Linked DNA regions of Homo sapiens: all the other regions are linked to region 2. Evidence: promoter capture Hi-C in 16 types of primary human blood cells and fetal thymus (Javierre and others, 2016). All regions are on one chromosome and are shown on one strand. The core of a region is centred on a gene start or on the middle of the fragment in contact, and the rest is flanking DNA. Distances in the headings are between cores, read along the strand shown. Region 1 holds the start of PLA2G15 (phospholipase A2 group XV). Region 2 holds the start of ACD (ACD shelterin complex subunit and telomerase recruitment factor). Region 3 overlaps NFATC3 (nuclear factor of activated T cells 3).

What was found. Contacts are between HindIII fragments. The CHiCAGO score rates a contact against its expected background, and 5 or more counts as called.
Region 1: a contact is called between a fragment that was not itself captured here and the fragment with the promoter of ACD in region 2, in 1 of 17 cell types (neutrophils). The highest score is 5.9, in neutrophils.
Region 3: a contact is called between a fragment that was not itself captured here and the fragment with the promoter of ACD in region 2, in 1 of 17 cell types (neutrophils). The highest score is 5.0, in neutrophils.

The regions. Positions count from the first base shown.
Region 1 is chr16:68,244,896-68,249,885 of GRCh38, forward strand. It overlaps PLA2G15 (phospholipase A2 group XV), which reads left to right and starts at 478. Exons shown (of 6, transcript NM_012320.4): 1 at 478-658; 2 at 4,395-4,551. The coding sequence starts at 532. RefSeq lists a silencer at 298-527 and an enhancer at 944-1,444. The HindIII fragment of the contact is 1,545 bases long and covers 1,747-3,291 here.
Region 2 is chr16:67,658,349-67,662,895 of GRCh38, forward strand. It overlaps ACD (ACD shelterin complex subunit and telomerase recruitment factor), which reads right to left and starts at 1,912. Exons shown (of 12, transcript NM_001082486.2): 1 at 1,774-1,912; 2 at 1,555-1,697; 3 at 1,354-1,447; 4 at 1,189-1,265; 5 at 1,027-1,071; 6 at 881-915; 7 at 580-731; 8 at 372-468; 9 at 207-293; 10 at 1-14. The coding sequence starts at 1,872. PARD6A (par-6 family cell polarity regulator alpha) reads left to right here and starts at 2,612. Exons shown (of 3, transcript NM_001037281.2): 1 at 2,612-2,753; 2 at 3,107-3,329; 3 at 3,548-4,426. The coding sequence starts at 2,691. The coding sequence ends at 4,299. RefSeq lists an enhancer at 1,242-1,825 and silencers at 1,979-2,088, 2,399-2,878. The HindIII fragment of the contact is 13,736 bases long and covers 1-4,547 here.
Region 3 is chr16:68,217,743-68,222,132 of GRCh38, forward strand. All of the region lies in intron 9 of NFATC3 (nuclear factor of activated T cells 3), which reads left to right. Among named protein-coding and RNA genes, the nearest start is that of MIR6773, 14 kb to the right of the region's middle. The HindIII fragment of the contact is 8,696 bases long and covers 1-4,390 here.

The sequences.
Region 1 (4,990 bases), core at 1,269-3,768, 590 kb after region 2:
GTCCTGGTCAGCTCCTGGTCACCTGAGGCCCAAGAACTGTCCGGGACTCACTTCCTCTCTTCTTGCTTTAACCGGGGTCGCTCAGCAGCGGCCAGCGCTGCACCCCTTATCCTCTCCCGGTCTTGTCCGTTCCAGATCCTCCAGGTCAGGGGGTCGCCAAGTGAGAGCTGCGCAGCGTGGATTTCGGGTACCCAGGGCTGGGCGGGGTACAGCAGCGGCGAGCTGGGTTCCCGGGTGGGCGACTGACAGCCCGGAGCCAGGCGATACCTCGATCCATCGATGCGCTCGGCGCTCAGCGTGGTCCAGGAAGCAGGGGGTTGGGCAAGGGCGGGGCGGCGACCTCCGACTGGGAGGGGCGTATATGGCGGCGAGTCCCTATTGGCCAGCCATTTGCGGGAGGCGGGCCCTGATTGGCCGGGGGGATGCGGGGGATGCGGGCGGCGGGGTTAAGCGCGTCGCCACCGCCCCCGCCTAGGCGAGAGCCCAGAGAGCTGAACCTGCATCCCGGACCTGCGGCGACCGTCGTACACCATGGGCCTCCACCTCCGCCCCTACCGTGTGGGGCTGCTCCCGGATGGCCTCCTGTTCCTCTTGCTGCTGCTAATGCTGCTCGCGGACCCAGCGCTCCCGGCCGGACGTCACCCCCCAGTGGTGCTGGGTGAGGCACGGGTCTCGTGGTGGATCTGTCGGTCGGGCGGGACGGGCCGCGGGCGGGGCTGCCTTCCCGGTCTGCTTCTGTTCCAGTCACGAAATGGGGGAGCGTATTGGTATCTGTCTTGTCACTTAGGTGATCTAGATCTGCCGGCTCACCTCCCGCCATGCTGGGCGCGGGTGTGGTCAGCTCCCCACCTCCTGTCCTGGTAGAAAATGGGGGTGAGTGGGAGAGTTACCATCTGGTTATTCATAGTTCCACCTGTCCGCATCATTCCCAAGCCTTGCCTCCCCTTATCCCATTTTTAAGCTGGAAAGACAGGTGCTTCAGCCCCACTCCTGAGGGATGGTGGGGGTGTGTAGAGTGGCTCCTGAGTTGACTTCTGCATCGACCTGGGCCTGGTTAGGAGGCTGTCACCCTCGACCCCTCCAATGCCACATATGCCAGAAGGCATTGCTGAAAGGAACCTCCTTAGGGAAAGGATTGCTGTCCTAGCTGGCCACCAACTCCCACAACTTATCAGATGTGTGGCATTGCCTGAGGGAAAAGGCCTAAGGGAAACTGAAGACAACTGAAGTCAGGGGAAAGGGTTGGGACAATGGCCATGAACCTGTGTCAGGCAACATGCTTGTACTCTTACCCTGCCACACATGCTTGGACTAGACTATGTGGAGGCTCGGTGACCTCCCCTGCTCACCCCGCTCCTTGATCACAACCCTGGCAACTCTACAACGGCCACTGTATTTCCTTGCAGGGATGGGCAGGGATGAGACCTCTGTCTGGGGGGCCTTGGGTGCCTCATTGAGGCCGTCACTCCCATCCAGAGCTGGTGTGTCCGTGGCCAGCCAGGATTCCTGAAAGCAGAGGCATCTGAGGCATGAATTACACGTGGAGTCTAGTGCAGCATGATCTCCATGCTCTTTCTGCTGAGAGTACTTTAAATGGGGACGATGCAAATCACAGAAGGGTAGAGTTGGCAGGTAGGGTGGTGCCAGGCAGGCCCCACCAGGAGTTCCCAGCCAGGAAAAGCTCCAGGGGGATACTAGGCCCAGGTTCACCATGGGATTTGGGCAGACTTGGCCCTGCCTCCCCAAAGCTTGCAGGATAGGAATAACAGTGATCCCCAGAGAGGAAGTCTGTGTGGGGCAAGCACAGAGAATCCACCAACCCAGCCTGGATGGGTGGGTGTCAAGTAAGGCTTCCTGGAGTATATAGCTGGAGCTAAGGCCAGGAGAGAGTAATGGGTCGGGGAGAGACGTGAGCATCTCAGGCTGCCTGGGATCGAGTCACAGGAGGAGTGGACTGCACAGGACTTGTGACTGGTTGGGTCATCTGAACTTTATCTTGAGGGCCTCAGGGAGTCCTGGGTTGGCCTGCAGAGTTCTAAGTCTGAGGGGCGTGGCATTAGGAAGCATGTGGTCTGTGGCACACAAAATGGCACATAGCCATTTTGCCTGGATTGATGCTAACCGCACTCATCAATTCAGTCAGTCTGTTTATCCTTGGTCACAGCAGAAGAGCCTCAGACCCCACCCAGAATCACAGAGCAGCAGGAGTCCTAACATGCCCAGCTTCTCAGGGAGTGAGGCTGCTGGCCTTAGCCCTGGGAGACCTCACGGTGGGCAGTTGGATAAGCAGCTCCTGGGCACAGAGCAGGGATCTGACCTTGACTGTCAGAAGATCAGAATCCTCTAGGGGTGGATCCTGAAATGGTGGTGGAGGAAAGAGAGACCAGCGATGTGATACAGAAGACCCTGGGCAAGGGGAAGGGACCATAGGCAAGGCCATTTCCACCTCTTGCAGCCTCAGTCTCCCCATCTGTTAAGTGGAAATAGTAAGGCTGTCCCCTCCCAGTGTTACTTGAGGTGAAAGGCATGTGGATGGCTCTTTTCCTAGTTCCAGGCGCAGATGGGCTCAGGAAGTGGCCACTGCTATTTTTAGGGGCCACACAGCCTGACCAGGGTAAGGAGCATCTGAGCAAAGCAGATCTGGTGACTTCCTCTTTTACCATTTCCCCTTTGGTAGAGACAGTGACCAGGGTCTCTGCCCTGCCCTGCCCAGTCCACAGGCATGTCATCCAGAGGCTGTCATGACAGGGACTCCCTCCCTCTGCACCCATACCATGAAGGGAGGTGAAGGCATGTGCCGCCCCTGCCTCTCATGGCACCCTGAAGACACTGGGATGGTGCCCAGGGAGGGCACGCCCTGTTCAGGGTGGATTTACGGTCAGTTCCCAGTGAATGTCCAGGAGAGCCAAGTGCTGGTTTTTCACTCAATGATCATGGACCCTAAACGGGGATGTGTTTGGGAAGTGGCGAGAGCATGGCATGTGGGGGCAGGTGAGGCCCGAAAGGTCAATGGGAGTAACGAGACTGTGAAGGGCTTTGACGCAGTGGGGAGGGATTTGGGTGTCACCAGGGCCCCAGAGTTCTGAGTACACTGAATAGGATGGCTGGGATGGAGAGAAGTCACCCTAGGGCCTGGACTGTGGTGATAATGGTGCTGGTTCAGGGTGGCTGTTTCCAATACGGGCTCCCAGCCATGCTAGGGCCCTCCAGATGATCTGCTCTCTGGCACCTTACTGGACTCTGGCCTTTAGTAAGGCCTGGGCCCTTGGTAGGCTGGCGGGTGCCAATGTAAGCTTCTCTCAGCTGTGTTTCTGTTCATTTCCCTCCCACCAGCCTGTCCTGCATACTTTGTCTGGTTGAATTTTAGCTGAGTGGCCCAGGGCTCTGTTCTGTTTCCTTCTTCCTCTCTCAGGGCGAACAGGACCCTGTCTTCTATGTAGCCTGGGATAGCTATGGGTGGAAGACTTTTGGGTTCAAGCCTCCAGGGTATATATCTTTTTTTTTTTTTGAGACCGGGTCTTGCTCTGTCACCCAGGCTGGAGGGCAATGGCACGATTTTGGCTCACTGCAACCTCTGCCTCCCGGGTTCAAGCAATTCTCCTGTCTTAGGCTCCTGAGTAGCTGGGATTACAGGTGTGTGCCACCACACCAAGGTAATTTTTTGTATTTTTAGTAGAGATGGGCTTTCACCATATTGGCCAAGCTGGTCTTGAACTCCTGACCGCAAGTGATCCACTCACCTCGGCCTCCCAAAGTGCTGGGATTACAGGCATGAGCCCCTGCGCCCTGCCTCGAAGGTATATATCTAATGACAAGGGCCTTGGCCAAACTTTGGAGGTTCTGGAATGCAAAGGGGTCTCCAAGCCCCTCCTCCCAGGCAGAGCTCCCATCGGGGTCCATTAACCATAGAAACCATGTGTAGAGGTGTGTCTGTGTTTGCTGGGGGTGATTCAGACCAAGATCTCATTTAACAGATACGGAAACTGAGGCCTAGTGTGGGGAGTGACTTCACCCTGAACCCCCTTCCAATAATCTGAATGGCCCAGGAGGATGTTCCAGTGAAAATCCAGGAGACTTACTTTATCTGGAGTTGGAGACAATGTTAGGGCCCTTCCCCAAACATGTCAGGCCTCTCCCAAGCCCCCCACAGGCATCTCTGCACCACACAGCAGTAGCAGCTTTTCTGCACAAAGATGGTTCCCTGGCCTTTGGGTCAAGGTCCCTGCTCTCTGAATTTCCTGCCACCAGCACTGTGCTTTAATTTGAGATGTGGAACTGCACAGGTCTGCCATATTATCTGTGGCTCTTCAGGGGGTCTGCTGCAGACATCAAAGTTCTTGGGAGTCTTGAACCTGCCGGGCTGAGGGCTCACACATGTCCTGTGCCCCCTGCAGTCCCTGGTGATTTGGGTAACCAACTGGAAGCCAAGCTGGACAAGCCGACAGTGGTGCACTACCTCTGCTCCAAGAAGACCGAAAGCTACTTCACAATCTGGCTGAACCTGGAACTGCTGCTGCCTGTCATCATTGACTGCTGGATTGACAATATCAGGTGGGGGCTGGGGCACACAGAGGGGGGTGCTGCTCACCAACAGTGCCTGAGAGGCCTCCAGAGTCTGTTCCTTCTATCCTCATCTCGAGGTCACTGACCTCTCTCCTTCCCCAGGTCCTCGGTCTGGTCTGGTCTGGTCTGGTTGGCACCACCTCTGCACTCCCAGGCAGAACTAACTTTCCCTTCCTGCTGCCCTTGTTCCTCTACTCTCCAGTCCTGGCCTCTCATGCCTACACACAATTTTTTTTTTCTTTTATTTTGGGATGGAGTCTTGCTGTGTCACTCAGGCTGGCGCCATCTCAGCTCACTGCAACCTCCGTCTCCCAGGTTCAAGCGATTCTTGTGCCTCAGCCTCCCAAGTAGCTGGGATTACAGGTGCCCGCCACCATGCCTGGCTAATTTTTTGTATTTTTAGTGGAGATGGTGTTTCACCATGTTG
Region 2 (4,547 bases), core at 662-3,161:
TAAGGCCGGGGTTCCTGAGGAGGAGGGGACTTATTGTAGGCACAGCCCTCTCCGCTCAGGGCAGCTGAGTGGCCTGCGAGCTCAGACAGGACTGCAGGGACCGTGTTCATCCCCCACCCACCGTGCACCTTTCACAGCATCCTGCGCAGCCCGGGAACCTGACTGACAGGCGGCAGTGAGTGCCTGTGACCTGTGCATCACCTCACCTGAGGAACTGGGTGAGGAAGGAGGAGAGGCTATGAGGGTCAGAGATAGGTCCTGCAGAGCCGGGTCTGGTGGGGGCAGCTCAGGGCCTGGGGGGTTCAGGAAGTCTTATCAGCACTGTGGACCTGGGCCCCAGGTATCCCCCCAACCTCTCCAGTCCCCCTTACCCTGTGTCCTCTGACAGGGGCCTAGAGAGCTCAGAATTAGCTGGTCATTCTCAGAGATGCACAGCATTGAGCTGGGGACAGTGTACACAGCTTCTCCCTGTGGGACATGAACTCTGTAGGACAGGCCCGTTTACTCTCATGTCCTGTGGGATATGACCCTTGCCCAACTCCTCACCCTGACATCTCCCAAGCAAATCCCCAGACTGACCGTGGCCTTGCATCGTGAGGCAGCCCAGTGGGTGACAGGGGGTGCTGTGCAAGGGCCCTCCAGTGTCAGGCAGCTTTCAGCCAGGCACACGAGTGCCCCCTGATGCTCCTGGTCCTCCCGCATTTCATCCAGAAGCTGGGACAGTGATAGGCCTGGGGACAGGGGACCATGGGATGAGTCAAGGCTTAAAGGGGAGGACCAGGAGGGTGAGGGGGAAGACAGCTTATTGAGGAAGCATAAGGTTAAGGCTGGAGAGATCACTGCACAGCGTGTTAGGATCACTGGTCAAGCTCTACAGTACCTGCATTGGACGAGGTGGACTCTGAAAGGTGCTCCCTACAGGAAGAGAGTGGCCAGGACTCAGGAACCATGCTGAGGCCTGTCTACCTAGATACACCATCCCCTCACCAAACAACACGTGGCCCCCGAGCCCAACCCCAGACTCACTCAAGGCAGTCATAGAGCTTTTTCTGAACATCTAAGTCTTGGTTGCTAAGAAAAAGAGAAGGGTAGTTAATGGGGGCCCAAGCCCTCCTACCCCATAGGCGTCTGCCAGCGCCGGCCAGGCTGGGGTGGGGAGAGCTGCTGGAGGGCGGAGGCATCACTTACCAACCAGGCACCCGTAGCCGGGGCTGCTCCGTGGGCAGCAGGCTGAAGCGGTCCACCTGGAGATAGAACTCTGCGGGCTGGAGGAGTTCGGGGGGAAGGGGGGGTCTCAGAATCGTCACGAAGAGTCATGCCCGGTAACCCGCCCAAGGCAGTCTCACCACTCACCGCGCCGCCCTCAGCGACCTGGACATGAACCCCGCAGTCCTGCAGCAGCAGCAGCCGGCCCTCTGTCCCGCGGAAGCCGAACTCCTTCTCCTCCCTGCAACAAGCAGGATCCTCACTGCCGGGCCCACCTGAACACAAGGCCCGCCCACCTCGCGCTCTCCTGCCGGACTCCGACCTCCAGAGCCGCGCGGGGCCTCTCACCAGTCCGAGGTGTCCAGGGCCTCCCGCGTCACCAGGCATCGGACACTGTGGGTCCCGTCAGACACAAGCAGCGTGGCCCCGACGTCGGACGTATCAGGGGCGTGGGATGGGCCCGCGACCGCGGCCTCGGCGTCCTGTAGTACCTGACGGCGGCGAGCGGCGTCAATCCCACCACCCCGGGCCTCCGCCTCGGTCTCCGGGCCCTGAATGGGGGCTCACCTCAAGCAGCTGCCCGGCTCGTGGACTGGAGGGTGTCTCTGACCCCAGAATCAGCTCCCGAATCCAGGGCCGTAGGACCAGCCTCCCCGAACCTGCCATCCCCACGGCTACACCCAGCGGATGCAACGGGCCCGGGTTTCCCGCGGGCGCCCAGGCCCCGCCTTTCCTCGGAAGAGGAAGCTCCTTCGCTGGGCGGGGCCGGAGGAGGAGGCCCCGCCCACGTACACCCCGCGCCTGCGCACGAGGGCGTCCTGCTCGGGGGCCTGTGTGCAGACTCCCGCTGGTCCACCCCGCTGGTGCACGGGATGCTGGCCCGTTTACTCTCATCGCGGCGTCACTCTGACAGCGGCCAGGCATTTGGGCCGTTCGTCAAGATTCCTGTGGTACCGGTAGGGAACAGAACAAGGGCTGGTCCCGTCCCTGGAGAGGGTTCCAGGGCCGGAGGCTGAGGCCGAGTGCCGTCCGAGCGAGTTGACTCGAAACCATTTCAGCACCGTGTGACCCCCGAACGGTTCAGCACATATTTATTATGACTCAGTTTCCTCATCTACACAGTGCACGGTCTTGTAAGGCCAGTGGAAATAAGAGCACACACACAGCGCTAAATAAATGGTACTTCCTTCGCCCTCCCCTCGGATTGGCGGAGCCCTGCTCCCCAGACTCCGGGGGCGCGCGGACCTCAGCGTGATGACGCAAGAGCGGAGGACGGCTCCTCTCCATCCACGGCTCCGTTTCCTAGGAAACGTGGACTCCGCGTTCCACTCTGCGTCGCTGCCCCCTTGACGTCACGCTCCGGATGGGAAGGCGGGGCGTGTGCTACCGCCAGGGGCGGGGCGGCGCGGGCGGGCCGGCCGGGCTGTGCACCTGCGCCTCGGCGGGCCGCCTGGGGCACCGTCCCCGGCCCGCCCGGCCCCGCCATGGCCCGGCCGCAGAGGACTCCGGCGCGCAGTCCCGATAGCATCGTCGAGGTGAAGAGCAAAGTAAGGGCTCCTCCGGCCTCGGCCCTAGGCGCTCCCAATTCCCTCTTTCTCCCCTTCCCAGCTCCTTGGTCCCCGCCACCTCTTCCCTCTATCCTCCAAGTCCCATTCTGCTTTTCTGCTCGCCTTCCCCCATCCGTCTTCCTTCCTCCACTGCTGGTCTCCAGCTCTCTGTGGCCTGAGTACCTGGAGGGCGGTAAGAAGACCTTGGACAGCGTCCCTGGTACTGGAGCTGAGGTCTGGGCTTAAGGCTGCCGCAAAAGCGGCAGCCGCATCTTTCCCATTCCTGCCAGCCTGCGGTGAGAAAGGGGCGCAGGCTGTCCTGACTCCTCCTCTCCCCCAACCCCGACTTCCAGTTTGACGCCGAGTTCCGACGCTTCGCGCTGCCTCGCGCTTCGGTGAGCGGCTTCCAGGAGTTCTCGCGGTTGCTGCGGGCGGTGCACCAGATCCCGGGCCTGGACGTGCTACTTGGCTATACGGATGCTCATGGCGACCTGCTGCCCCTCACCAACGACGACAGCCTGCACCGGGCCCTGGCCAGCGGGCCCCCGCCACTGCGCCTACTGGTGCAGAAGCGGGGTGAGGAGGGGTACAGTGGGCAGCCTCTGTGGGGTAAGGTGTCTGTGGGGCAGGTCTACAAGGGTTAGTCCATGCCCAGGGTACCCAAGCGTCACCCTCTGCAGTCCCTGCCCTTGGCTTGACCTCTAAGTGGTAGGAAATAGCTACAGTGCCCCCTGTAAACAGCCCAAGTCGGGGAGCAGGTCTCTGATCTCAACATCCCCCCTCTTCTGCAGCAGAAGCTGACTCCAGCGGCCTGGCTTTTGCCTCCAACTCTCTGCAGCGGCGCAAGAAAGGGCTCTTGCTGCGGCCAGTGGCACCCCTGCGCACCCGGCCACCCTTGCTAATCAGCCTGCCCCAAGATTTCCGCCAGGTTTCCTCAGTCATAGACGTGGACCTACTGCCTGAGACCCACCGACGGGTGCGGCTGCACAAGCATGGTTCAGACCGCCCCCTGGGCTTCTACATCCGAGATGGCATGAGCGTGCGTGTGGCTCCCCAGGGCCTGGAGCGGGTTCCAGGAATCTTCATCTCCCGCCTGGTACGTGGGGGTCTGGCTGAGAGTACAGGGCTGCTGGCGGTCAGTGATGAGATCCTCGAGGTCAATGGCATTGAAGTAGCCGGGAAGACCTTGGACCAAGTGACGGACATGATGGTTGCCAACAGCCATAACCTCATTGTCACTGTCAAGCCCGCCAACCAGCGCAATAACGTGGTGCGAGGGGCATCTGGGCGTTTGACAGGTCCTCCCTCTGCAGGGCCTGGGCCTGCTGAGCCTGATAGTGACGATGACAGCAGTGACCTGGTCATTGAGAACCGCCAGCCTCCCAGTTCCAATGGGCTGTCTCAGGGGCCCCCGTGCTGGGACCTGCACCCTGGCTGCCGACATCCTGGTACCCGCAGCTCTCTGCCCTCCCTGGATGACCAGGAGCAGGCCAGTTCTGGCTGGGGGAGTCGCATTCGAGGAGATGGTAGTGGCTTCAGCCTCTGACAGTCAGGATGAAGCCCCATGCCACTCCACACTGCTGGGACATGGCAGGGACTTCACAGTGGGGGTTTTTAGCTGGCTCACAGGGCTCCCTCAGCCTGGGGAACATTAAAGGTTTTCTACAAATACAGTCATGGTCCTTGTGTGTCCCAGTTCCAGCCTCCTCCCTGGTCTCACCAGCTTGCCTTCTGCTCTGGACTAAGGCAGGAGTGACATTGGGGAGAACTTCCTGCAATCAAGCAGCAGGAGGG
Region 3 (4,390 bases), core at 806-3,305, 560 kb after region 2:
GACTGAGTCTTAGCCCGAGGAAGGGATGGGAAAAAGGGAGGAAGAAGGAGGCCAAGCAAGTGATGAGGAAGATACGTACATCGCTTTTGCTCACATTTCATTGAAGAAAACGAATTGCATGGGCCATACCTAGCTACACTGGGGAAGCCAGGAAATATACTCTGTAGCTGGGTGTCAGTGTGACTAACTAAACCTCGATTACTGTGGAAGAATGAATTAAGATAATTAGCAGCCTACCATAGATACCTTCTAAATTTTCAGGAACTTATTTCTGTCTGTAGCTTGAAAAATCAAATGAATATTTTTTGGTTTTTCCCTTTTTTTTGTTTTATTTGGAGACAGGGTCTCACACTGTTGCCTAGGCTGGAGTGCAGTGGTGCACGATCATAGCTTACTGCATCCTGGAACTCCCTGGGCTCAAGTGATCCTCTTGTCTCAACCTCCCAAAGTGCTGGGATTACAAGCATGACCCACCACACCTGGCCAAATTAATCAGATTTTGATAAATCCAAATTAATTTCTCAACTCATGCCATAAATAGGTGAATTCAGGCCAGGCATGGTGGCTCATGCCTGTTATCCCAGCACTTTGGAAGGCCGAGGCAGACAGATCACTTGAGTTCAGGAGTTTGAGACCAGCCTGGGCAACATGGCAAACCCTGTTTCTACCAAAAATTTAAGAAAAAATTGGCCAGGTTTGGTGCTGTGCAGGTTGCAGTGAGCCAAGATCGTGCCACTGCACTCCAGCCTGGGCGACAGAATGAGAGCCTCTCAAAAAAAAAAAAAAAAAAAGGTGAATTCAGTATTTTTTCCTGTATTTAGTTTAGATGGTGCTTTTTTTTTTTATTTTGAGACAGAGTCTCACTCTGTCACCCAGGCTGGAGTGCAGTGTGCGATCTTGGCTCACTGCAAGCTCTGCCTCATGGGTTCACTCCATTCTCCTGCCTCAGCCTCCTGAGTAGCTGGGACTACAGGTGCCTGCCGCCACGCCCAGCTAATTTTTTGTATTTTTAATAGAGACGGGGTTTCACCATGTTAGCCAGGATGGTCCCAATCTCCTGACCTCATGATCCGCCCGCCTCGGCCTCCCAAAGTGCTGAGATTACAGGCGTGAGCCACCACGCCCGGCCTAGATGGTGCTTTTATAATAATTGCATACATGTAGGCTTCATTTTTAAAATACATTTAGTCTTTATTTTATAAAAACAACATCTCGGCTGGGCACGGTGATTCATGCCTGTAATGCCAGCGCTTTAGGAGGCCGAGGCGAGGTAGAAGGATCAATTGAGGCCAGAAGTTCGAGACCAGCCTGGGCAACATAATAAGACCCTGTCTCTATCCTCCCCAAAAATAAATCAGCTGGACCAGGCGCGGTGGCTCACGCCTGTAATCCCAGCACTTTGGGAGGCTGAAGCGGGCAGATCACAAGGTCAGGAGTTTGAGACCAGCCTGAACATGGTGAAACCCCGCCTCTACTAAAATACAAAAAAAATTAGCTGGGCATGGTGGCAGGTACCTGTAATCCCAGCTACTTGGGAGGCTGGGGCAGGAGAATTGCTTGAACCCGGGAGGCGGAGGTTGCGGTGAGCTGAGATCATGCCACTGCACTCCAGCCTAGGTGACAGAGCAAGACTCTGTCTCAAAAAAAATAAATAAAAATAAAAAAATAAATTAGCTGGTCTTGGTGGCACATGCCTGTAGTCCCAGCTACTTGGGGCAGGGCTCTGAAGCGGGAGGATCGCTTGAGCCTAGGAGTTCACGGCTGTAGTGAGCTATGATCACACCACTTCACTCCAGCCTGGGTGGCAGACTAAGACACTGTCTCCTAAAATAATAATAGTAATAATAATAATAATAACACCTTCATAAAATTGTTTACCCAGGGGATGAATACCTTTAATCTTCAGGTTCAGGAAAAGAATAACATGACCAAACTTTGGTGAATGTTCATTGCAGCTTCAAGAGGAAATAACATATAAATGGAGTCTAAAAATACCCCGAAATCCTTTACAAAATTGCAAATTAGAAAGGCCCGTTGGGATTTTGTGTATATGGCAGTGTGTATCTACTCCCTTCAAAGAGGGAGCACACTGGGTTACCCTGCCCCTCTCTACCTGGTTGTGAGGTTCCATACTATATACTTGTCAGTTCTAACTTTGAATTCTTAAGCATGGGAAATAGCTCTAAATAAGAGTCCTATTGGTACTCAAGCACCTCATTCTTGTGTGTAGAAATAGCATTCCAGTGGACTGCCAATTTGAACATTTCTTGAATACGAACTTTTTCTCTTACAGCAAACATTATTGATAGCTGTGACTCTACTTTTGTTGTGGTGGCACAGGCAAATTCAGGTGTTGGGGTAGTGGAAGTCACAGATGGTGGCTGCCAAAAGTGTGCCAGATCCTGTGACCTACATAACCTGTTAGCACCCTTATTGAGGACTGTTCACTCTTGTTCTAGGCTTTTAATTCACTTTGCTCTTTAAAGGGAGGAAAATGAGGGCTGGGTGCGGTGACTCACGCCTGTAATCCCAGCATTTTGAGAGGCCGAGGTGGCCAGATCATGTGAGGTCAGGAGTTTGAGACCAACCTGGCCAACATGGCAGAAACCTCGTTTCTACCAAAAATACAAAAATTAGCTGGGTGGGAGGCAGCAGTTGCAGTGAGCCAAGACCACACCACTGCACTCTAGCCTGGGTGACAGAGTAAGACTCTATCTCAAAAAAATTGGGGGGAAGAAAAATGATAAAATTGTACATTAGGGGCATAAACAATTCCTTATACTCTTATCTTAAATTGGTGAAAAAAATAGGAAACCACCTCACATACTTAGTGGACTAGAGTTTATTTTTCCTTTTTTTTTTTTTTAAGAGACAAATTGTCCCGGCCGGGCAGGGTGGCTCACGCCTGTAATCCCGGCACTTTGGGAGGTCGAGGCAGGTGGATCACGAGGTCAGGAGATCGACACCATCCTGGCTAACACGGTGAAACCCCGTCTCTACTAAAAAAAAAAATACAAAAAAAAAAAAATAGCCAGGCATTGTGGCGGGCGCCTATAGTCCCAGCTACTCGGGAGGCTGAGACAAGAGAATGGCGTGAACTTGGGAGGCGGAGCTTGCAGTGAGCTGAGATTGCGCCACCGCACTCCAGCCTGGGAGACAGAGGGAGACTCTGTCTCAGAAAAAAAAAAAAAATTGTCACTTTGTTTGTTGGCCAGGCTCTTCTTGAACTCCTGGCCTCAAACAATCTTCCTGCCTTGGCTTCCCCTAGTGTTGGGATAACAGGCATGAGCCATGGCACCTGGCCTGGATTACAGTTTAAATAAATTAGCAAATTCATGCATATATCCATTCAAGATGACTTGAAAAATTAAATTGCAAGCATTAGTATTTTTAACAACTTAAAAATTGTGCTTATCAAGATTGCTAATGACTTACATTTACATTACATCATAGATTTGTTTACCAGTAATAATTTTGACTTGCTTCAGTTGAGACCTACGTTTTGGCCAGTCCCAGCAGGAAGATATCTGAGGAATCTAGAGGTGAGAGCCTGAACCCAGAGCCCCCAGCCCGAGGGAGAAGTGAGGGAGAAGGAAAGCAGAGGACTTGCATGATTAACACTCGGCTCAAGTTATTGCTAAAGGTCTGTGAAAGCACTTTGTTGCAGTTCTGACTCCCTAGCCTAAAATTTATATTCAGTGCTCACCTGTAGCAATTACTTGAGCATGATTTTTGTTGTCATTGTTCCAAGTCCCCAAATTGTTTTAAAGATTCAGTTGGCAAGTAATTTTATTTAGTACTCAATATATGTAAGCACTAGGGATTCAGGGGAAAACAAGATAGAGAAAGTCTGCCCCGTTGGAACTTAAATCTCCTGACTGCTGGTGAATTCATAAATAAGTGAATCCTGTAGTATAATGTATAGTTGAGTATAGTCCGCTTGAGCACTACTTTGTGGAAAATCTTCTGACTTTAACATAGTCTTAAAATCCTAAACTGTCAGGAACTTTCCAGGTTCCTTCAGCTAAGTAAGGTGAGGCACACCAGGCAAAGGAACAGCAGAGCTTTGGCAAGGGGGAGCAGAAATAACACAGCATTGAGCAGGCTTCCATTATAATCAATACCACATATCTACTTTAGAAAATGATGGTTTCATCCTTATATAAGTGTACTTGGTAAGTGGATGGACAGTGCCAGATATGGACCCTCATCGTCAGGAAAATAGAAGCATTGACTTCTTATAAGATATAGAAGAACAACACCTCGGCTGGGTGCAGTGGGTCACGCCTGTAATCCTAGTACTTTAGGAGGCTGAGGCAGGAGGATCACTTGAGTCCAGGAGTTTGAGACTAGCTTGGGCAACATGGTGAGACCTCATCTCTGCAGAAAG